2 separate regions of the Homo sapiens genome follow, and region 1 is linked to region 2. Evidence: promoter capture Hi-C in human tissues and cell types (Jung and others, 2019). All regions are on one chromosome and are shown on one strand. Each heading gives the region's core, a stretch centred on a gene start or on the middle of the fragment in contact. The rest is flanking DNA. Distances are from core to core; before and after follow the strand shown.

Region 1 (4,526 bases), core at 630-3,129, 230 kb after region 2:
ATTTGATAGCAAAATGAAACTAGTTGTAAGATATAATTTATCAATTTTGAATAATTTACTCAAGCAGGCTGCATTCTGGGGTTGAATTTTGTTTTATTATTATTTTTTGGGGGGAGGTCAAATTTTGATTTCCCATGACTATATCTAGACAAGAAGTGGATGAGAACCCATTAGCATTTTGGAAAGAATTTTGGAGGCTTATCAGAAATATACAGATGTAGGCCGGGCACAGAGGCTCACACCTGTAATCCCAGCACTTAGGGAGGTCAAGGCAGGTGGATTGCTTGAGGTCAGGAGTTCGAGACAAACCTGGCCAGCATGGTGAAACCCCGTCTCTACTAAAAATACAAAAAATTAGCTGGGCATGGTGGTGCACGCCTGCAGTCCTAGCTACTCAGGAGGCTGTGGCAGGAGAATCTCTTGAACCCAGAAGGCAGAGGTTGCAGTGAGCCGAGATCGCACCACTGCACTCCAGCCTGGGTGACAGAACGAGACTCTGTCTCAAAAAAAAAAAAAAAGAAAAAGAAAAAGAAAAGAAAGAAAGAAAAGAAAACAAATATACAGATGTAGATCCGACAGTCCTAAGAATTCCATGTTAATTAATGTGAACTATTTTGTAATACGCAGATGATATCTTGATAGCCAGTGAAATGGAGGGTAACTCCATCCTCCATGCCATCAAAGTCTTAAATTTCCTGGCAGATAAAGGGTACAAGGTTTCTAAGAAAGAGGCATAGATCTCTCATCCCACCATTCAGTACCTGGGATTCAAGGGACTCACAATCTTCTCCCAGATCACAGAGGCAATAAATCAGGTGGCAGTCTCCAGTATCCTTAAACAACTACGTGGTCCTTTAGGGATGCCTGGATTTTGTCAAATTTAGATCCCTAACTTCAGGTTAATAGCCAAACCTCTCTAGGAGACTTTAAAAGAAGAAGAAAGGGAACCCCTTTCTTGGAGTAGAGAATGCCAAAATGCCTTTCTAACCATTAAAGAGAAATTGATGACAGCCCCTGCCCTGAGTCTCCCTGACCTACACCAACCTTTTGATTTATTTGTTCAAGAAAAACAGGGAATTGGACTTGGAGAATTAACTCAAGACCTTGGGACCTTAAAATGTCCCATGGCCTACTTTATAAAACAGCTTGACAAGGTAACTAAGGGCTGGCCTACCTGCCTAAGGGCAGTGGCTGCCACCTGTGATATATTGCAGGAAGCTGAGAAGTTCACCTTTCAGCAGCCCATGAAGGTACATACTATGCATTATGTGTTTCCCCTGCCCAAGCAGAAGGGGGCTATTGTGGACTGCCAGGGCTGGAAAAGCACCAAACCATGCTTCTAGATAAACCAAATATAACTCTTAAAGTTATTTCTACTCCTAATCCTGCCACCCGGCTACCAAGGAACCTCCAGCCTCCTGTTGAGGATTGCATTCAAATAATTGATCAAGTTTACTCCAGCAGACTGGGCCCCACAGATTTGCCATTAACAGAACCCAACCAAGAATTCTTCACCGAGGGAAGCAATTTCATGGAACAAGGAGTCGGGAGGGCCAGCTGGGTTGAGGTTTAACTCAGCAGAACTGAAAAACCTGCCGAAGTTGTAAAGGCTCTAATGAAGGAAATAATTCCTCCATATGGATTCCCACAAACTCTCCATAGTGACAATGAAGCCACTTTTTTTTTTTTTTAACAGAGTTTCACTCTGTCATCCAGGCTGCACTGCAGTGCTGCAATCACAGCTCACTACAACCTCAACCTCCCCGGCTCAGGGGACCCTTCCACCTCAACCTCCCTAGTTGCTGGAACTACAGTCACGCACCACCACACCTGGATAATTTTTGTATTTTTTGTAGAGACAGGGTCTTGCCATGTTGCCCAGACTGGTCTCAAACTCCTGAGCTCAAACAATCCACCCGCCTTGGCCACCAAAAGTGCTGGGATTACAGGTGTGAGCCACCACACCCAGCATGAAGCCACTTTTCTTGTTGTTGTTGTTTTGAGACGGAGTCTCACTCTGTCACCCAGGCTGGAGTGCAATGGCGCAGTCTTGGCTCACTGCAACTTCCACCTCCTGGGTTCAAGCGATTCTCCCACCTCAGCCTCCCAAGTAGCTGGGACTACAGGTGCGTGACACCACACCTGGCTAATTTTTGTATTTTTAGCAGAGACAGGGTTTTACTAGGTTGGCCAGGCTTGTCTCAAACTCCTGACCTCATGATCACCCGCCTCGGCCTCCCAAAGTGCTGGGATTACAGGCGTGAGCCACTGCGCCCGGCCATGAAGCCGCTTTTATAGCCCAAATAACCCAGGAAGTATGGCAGCTTCTGAGTGTCAATTAGAAACTGCATTTGTCTTGGAGACCCCAATCTTCTGGAAAGACTGAAAGAATACATAAGACATCGAGGAGTTGCTTTCTAAAGTTCGCCACGAGACAAATCTTACCTGGGAAAAGGTCTTGCCCCTTGCCCTGCCATGACCAGTGGGATTTTTTTCTAGGGATTCAAGGCTGGTTCGATATTTTTAAATCAACCAATGTAATCTACCAGATTAATAGGCTAAAGAAGAAAAATTACATGATTATGTCAATTTATACAGAAAAAAATTTACAAAATTCAAAATCCAGTTATGATTTTTAAAAAATACTCTCAGAAAACTAGGAATAAGAGAATAATTTCCTCAATTTGATTTTTTAAAACCTGCAAAAAGCTTACAGCTAAAGGCCGGGCACAGTGGCTCACGCCTGTAATCCCAGCACTTTGGGAGGCCGAGGCGAGCAGATCACGAGGTCAGGAGTTTGAGACCAGCCTGACCAACATGGTGAAACCCCGTCTCTACTAAAAATACAAAAATTAGCCGGGCGTGGTGGCACACACCTGTAATCCCAGCTACTCAGGAGCCTGCGGCTGGAGAATCACTTGAACACGGGAGGCAGAGGTTGCAGTGAGCTGAGATCGTGCCACTGCACTATAGCCTGGGTGACAGAGCAAGACTCCATCTCAAAAAACAAACAAACAAAAAACAAACCTACAGCTAACATTACACTTAGTGGAAAAAGACCGAATGTTTTCCTCTAACATCAGGAACAAGGCAAAGATGTCCACTCTCAGGGTCGGGCGTGGTGGCTCACGCCTATAATCCCAGCGCTCTGGGAGGCTGAGGCGGGCGGATCATGAGGTCAGGAGATCGAGACCATCCTGGCTAACAGGGTGAAACTCCGTCTCTACTAAAAATACAAAAAATTAGCCGGGCGTGGCGGCAGGCGCCTGTAGTCCCAGCTACTCGGGAGGCTGAGGCAGGAGAATGGCATGAGCCCGGGAGGCAGAGCTTGCAGTAAGCCGAGATCACGCCACTGCACTCCAGCCTGGGCGACAGAGCAAGACACCGTCTCAAAAAAAAAAAAAAAAAAAAAAGAAAAGATGTCCACTCTCACCATTCTTATTCAACATAATATTGGGAATTCCAGCCAATGAAATAAGGCAAGAAAAGTAAGTAAAAAGTATACAGACTAGCAAGAAAGAAATAAAACTATTCATATTTACAGATAACATGATTATCTACGTAGAAAATACCAAGGAATCTACCAAAAAACAAAACCAAAACCAAAAGACTCCTAGAATGAATAAGTGGGTACAGTAAGGTCACAGAATACAGGATTAACATACAAAAAACAATTATATTTCTGTATACTAGCAATAAACAAGTGACCAGTAAAATTAAAAATATAAGACCATTTATAAACACTCCAAAATAATGAAATGCTTAGGTTTAAATCTAACAAAACATATACTGAAATAATATGCTGAAAATTATAAACTTATAAAAGAAACCAAAGAAGATGTCAAAAGAGAGATATATTGTGTTCATGAATTAGAAGACTCAAAAGATGCGAGTCTTCTCAAATTGATATTCAGATTTAATAAAATTTCTATCAAAATCCCAGCATGCTATTTTGTAGTAGATGTAGACAAGATTTCTATAACATTTGTATGGAAAGCAAAGGACCTATAATAGCTAAAACAATTTTGAAAAAGAAGGATAAAGTGGGAGAAATCAGTCTACCCAGTTTATAACTTCAAGATTTATATACAGCTATAGTGATCAAGACTATGCTGTATTGGAAGGAACGCATTCAAACCACAGCACCTGGTTGAGGGATAGACACATAGTTCAGTAAAATAGGATAAAGAACCCAGGAATAGTCCCACACAAATATGCCCAACTGATTTTCTTTTTTATTTTTGAGACAGGGTCTTGCTCTGTTGCCCAGACTGGAGTTGCAGTGGTGTAATCATGGCTCACTGCAGTCTCCTCTTCCTGGGCTCAAGTGTTCCTCCCATCTCTCAGTCTCCCAAGTAGCTGGGACTACAGGCACGTGCCACTGTGCCCAGCTAATTTTTATGGTTTTTTTGTTTTTGTTTTTTGTTTTGGTTTTGGTTTTGGTTTTTGTAGAGACGGGGTTTTGCCATGTTGCTCAGGCTGGTCTTGAACTCCTGGGCTCAAGAGACCTGCTTGCCTTGACCTCC
Region 2 (4,610 bases), core at 436-2,935:
AACCCTGGGTCTCCTGGAAGGTCTGACAGGCAAGAACTGAAAATAAAGGCTAGCCCCACCCCAGTGGATCTTGACCCTGGTGAGGGGTCTGTAGACTTAAAAGGGGGAATCTTCGTTTCTCCTCTCTCCCTGCTCACTCAAATAGGAACGGTAGTGGCTCTGCCAGCCCCACCCCACTGGCTCTTGACCCTGGTGAGGGGTCTGTAGGCTTAATAGGGGGAAATCTCCTGTTTCTCTTCTCTCCCTGCTCACTCCTGTTCTGTCTCCCTCCCAGGCTGCCTCCTCCTGGTGGCCTTCCAGGATGACACCCATTTCAACTGGACTCTTGGAGCTTCAAGAGACGACCCAACTTTCCAAACCTTAGATGGATTCCCAAAGCCTGTGGTACCCCATTTTCTTGGTATGGACTGAAGGGGAGGGATTGCTGGGACATTTTGATAGTATGTGGGACAAAGGGACACAGGAGATGTGGGTAGCATAGACTTAAACTGCCTTCGACTTAAACCACCTGCTCCTGCACTGGGCTCCTCCACTCACTCCACAGAGTTCCGAGCTCCTGATGAAGTCTCCTCAGTCAGGAGTGGGCTCCCAACTGCCAGGGGTTCAGCCTGGGTGATTGCCGCAGGCCCCCTGCAGCCGCCCACCATCCAGACTTCAGTAAAGTCTGTTAATGATGATGGTGATGAAGGCTGTCAGAGCAGGGCAGGGCCCACAGGGTTGGGGCTAGGGTTGTGTTCTCCCTGAAGGGACGGCCATGCACAAAACCACGGCTGCACAGACAGGTCCATTCCACAGCGTGGGGGTGGCTGGGGCTTTCCCCAGATTCACCCATGGACTTCCTTCACCCCATCCCCAAACTGCACTGGGAGCAAGATCAACAGAGAAGGAGAAATCTAATACAGACATAGACGAGTCTGCAGTGAGGGGCTCGCGGGCCAGCTCAGAACAACGGGGCAGGGAGGGGAGGCCTGGGGTCTGCCTGCAAGGGCCCAGCCCACCAGTGCCGAGTGACCACCCTCCCCCCAGCCCCACCCCAGGCCCTCGGGTAGCGCCAAGGCCCAGTCTCCCACTCGGAGGCCCCGGCCCAGCCCCGGTGCCTGGGAAAGCCGCCTGTTTTGTTCCCAGATGCCACCCCCCCACACACACCCTTTTTTTTTTTTTTCCATTCATTGCAGTTCGGTCCCTTTCGAAGCCGCAGGGACCCGGGTGGCAGGGCTGAGGCGAGGGGGTGGGACTCCCTGCCCTGACAGGTAGTGCCGGCCCCCGCTTTGGGAAGCCCCTTCCCCCGCCCTCCCCTCCGTCCGCTCTCCCTGCCCCTGTCAGCCGCGCCAGACGCTCTCCGGCTTTGCAGCATTCAATAAAAATTGAGAAACATTTGGGCTGAAATCGCTGCTTTATCTGGAGGAGCCACAGCGCCGGGAGAGACCACTGCTGCGCGGGGGGAGCCCGGGGTCTCAGTGGCCCGGGCACGCGGGGTCGCCGCGCTCCAGCGCCCGCGCTGCCCCCGGGTGACCCTACGGGCGCGGTGTGGGGACCCGGGCTCGCGGCGGCGCGCGGCCGCCGGGGGCCGGGACGCGCGCGGGGGGCGGTGGCCTGGCGAGGCTCCCCCCGCGCCCGCGGCTCAGGTGGGCCGTGCCCAGCGCTGGCGGAGCCCGGGTCCCCGTTCTGCCCGGGCTGGATGGCTCATTCTGCTGGCTGCGCGGTGGCGGCGGCTGTGTGTGCGCCGCGCCTTGCCGCCCCCCCTGGCCCCCCGAGCCCGGGGCGCGCGCTCCCGCCCGGGCCGTCCGGGCCCCGCGGCGCCGCGGCCCGAGGCCCCGGGAAGCGCAGCCATGGCTCTGCGGAGGCTGGGGGCCGCGCTGCTGCTGCTGCCGCTGCTCGCCGCCGTGGAAGGTGAGCGAGCGGGCGGGCGGGCGGGCGATGGGGGCGGGGAGCGGCCGGGCACGGGCGGCCGCCGGCGCCCACCTCCGCTCCGCGGCCCGCAAAGTTTGCCCGGGGGCCGGCGCCGGGCGCAGGTGGCCGCGGGGAGGTGTGTCCGGCCGCGCCGGGAGGAGCGGGCCCCGCGGGCGCCCGGGGAGCGGCGGGCGCTGATTGACTGTGCCAGGAGGAGGCGAAGGGACCATCTTGCCGAGGCTTTGTAGCCAGCCCGGCGAGCGCCGCCCAGGGCTGGGGGCTGCCCACGCGCGCTCGCCGCCCCCGGCTCGGGCAGCCGCCTCGCGCCGGCCTGGTCTTGCTCCGCACAGGGTGGAGGGGCGCGGGCCCGGCCGTGGCGGGGGGCGGGGGGGGCGCCGGCGCTCGGTCGGGGCTGGAAAGTTTGGCAGGGAGCAGAGGGAGGGAGGCACCGCGGCCGGCCGGGGTGGGGGCTCCCGGCCCGCGCCCCCGAGATGGGGCCCGGCGCCCCGGAGAGCAGGGACTGGCAGAGTGGAAGGGAGCGCGCCAGCCCCCGCGTCGGTGCCTGCCCATCGCCCGCGGCGTACAATGGGGTCCCCTCCCCGAGAGGACTGCGCGGGGGATGGGTCTGTGGGCATCTCTCCGCCGCGCAAGGTCTCCGGGCACCCCCGCCGGCCACCGCCCCGCGGCCGCGGCGCTCAGCGTGGCGGCTGGAGCCCCGGGAACTCTCCAGCTGCCGCCGGGGCCGGACCAGATGCTCTTGCCATGTGTTGGCCTTGGCCAGGGTCGCGGGCCCTCTCCCCGTGGCCTCGTGTATTGGTACCACTCGACCCCCAGGGGGGCAAGGGTAGTTGCTAGGTCTCCCGAGCCAGCTTGCTCTGGAGGGAAAGTTAGTGCGGTCTGGGTGTGTCCACCAGGAATGGCCGAGCTTGCAGGGCAAGAAGCGAACGTGAATAATGGTTCTCACGTGTACTGCACTTTACAGTTTTCAAACCACTTTACAGTTTATGAAGTACTTCGCACTATACGCAGCTCTCTGTGGTTTACAACGTGCTGCACAGTTGACAAGGTACTTTAAGCTTTACAAAGTGCTTTCCCGCCCACCAGCGTGTTGGATCCCTCAAAATACACCTTCCGGGGAAGACAGGTAGGTATGATTCCTACTTCTCTTGAACAGATAGGGAAACCGAGGTTCTGAAAAGTCCGATGTCTCACCCAGGGCCGTTGGGTGACAAAAATAGAACCCAGGTCTGTGGTCTTTCTTTGAAACCAGCACTCACTTAGCTGGGTTTTGTTGCCCCTAAACTGCGTGAGCCCTTCCAGGGTTCTGCTCCCTTGGGCTTAGGGATGATGTCTGTGTGCACCTCTCAGGCCACTTTAGGGTTGTGGGGCGCCCCTTCCCTTCTTGCAGCCTAAGAAAAAACGCATATCAGACCAGACGTGGGGGCTGCGGCCTCTGGGAAAGGCGTCGTGGGGGACCCTGTGCTACAACTTCAGTTTCTCTTTCGGTAATGAGCACTTTAGTGACCGCAGTCAGGGGGTGGGGGGTGTCCCTGGATGGCAGCCACAGTTTCTGGCACTGAGGCAGCTGTCCTTCGGCTCCTGGGGGATTTGGCGGCTGACTGCGGTTTCCCGGAGTGGGGCCACTGGGGCACCTAGGGTGCCACGGGCCCTGGGTGTGGAGGGCAGCCCTGGGGCCTGGCTGCTGGCGGGAGCTCTGTGGAATATGGCTGAGGTACCACTTATTAACTCTGGCTTTGGGGAAATGACTCATGCGTTGGCCCGCTATACATTGGGATGTTTACAGTATTATGGGGAGCTTGGCATAAATATTGCTATTTAGGTTGCAGTCAGCGGTGCTGGAGGGGAAGAAAATTGGCCCCTCTCTCGTTGGAAGAGGCCTGGGTGTGTTTTTAATTACTCTGGGGTAGATGGAAGGGCCACATCTGTCCAGCCATCGCCCTGGCAGAGGCTGGTTGGAATCTGGTGGGCTGTGGCCAGCCTGGACCCTGGCCCTGGACACAGGGCTGGTGGGCGCTGACGTCACAGGAGGGTATGGCTACTTGGACTGCCACTTGGGGGCAGGGTGGGGAAGGGAAGCCACAGCAGGGTGGGAGGAGGGCTGCAGCAGGCACCCCAATGCTTGCCTCAGGCTCTTGTTCCGTTTGCCCCCTGGACACTAGGAAGTTAGTCCATCAGTGGTTAATAAGGAGCTGGCCGAATGGATGGGGAGATGGTGTGAGGTGGAGGTCAGAGGGCCTGCTTCTCATTTACTATGGGACCCTGGGCCAGGTCCCTTCCCTGTGGGGGCCTCAGTTTCTCTGGGTGTAAAATGGCCTGGCTAAATATCTTGTAGAGTCCATCGTCTACGCCCTACTTCCCCTCTTTGAGCCTCGTTTTCCTCCCCCGTCTAGTGAGAGTGATGACAGCGCCTGTCCTGCCTGTCTCCTGGGGTGTTTGTGAGGATCAGACCAGATGATGGGTGGGAGAAGTCCCCCTTCAAAGCCAGGGATGGACGGTGCTGCCTGTGCACATTTGGGGGGCGGTGCTGCCTGTGCACATTTGGGAGACACCAGGGTCCTCCTGAGGGTGACACAGTCTGTGGAGACAGGACTGGGCCGTGGAGCAGTAGGAGGGTGGCCCCTCTGGCTCCCAGAACCCAGAGCCACATGGCTACCACTTCCTTCCCTTCCTCCTTCCTTGTCTCCTCAGCCCGTAAAGGG

What was found. The method cuts DNA at HindIII sites, captures the fragments that hold promoters and counts their contacts. A contact is called where the count stands out against the background at its distance.
Region 1: a contact is called between a fragment that was not itself captured here and the fragment with the promoter of EPHB2 in region 2, in 3 of the 25 tissues and cell types used here (IMR-90 fibroblasts, dorsolateral prefrontal cortex and mesenchymal stem cells).

The regions. Positions count from the first base shown.
Region 1 is chr1:22,943,352-22,947,877 of GRCh38, forward strand. No RefSeq gene overlaps it. Among named protein-coding and RNA genes, the nearest start is that of LACTBL1, 27 kb to the right of the region's middle. The HindIII fragment of the contact is 5,786 bases long and covers 1-4,526 here.
Region 2 is chr1:22,709,154-22,713,763 of GRCh38, forward strand. EPHB2 (EPH receptor B2) reads left to right here and starts at 1,686. Exons shown (of 16, transcript NM_017449.5): 1 at 1,686-1,890. The coding sequence starts at 1,830. RefSeq lists a silencer at 373-658 and an enhancer at 2,880-2,979. The HindIII fragment of the contact is 4,397 bases long and covers 1-3,840 here.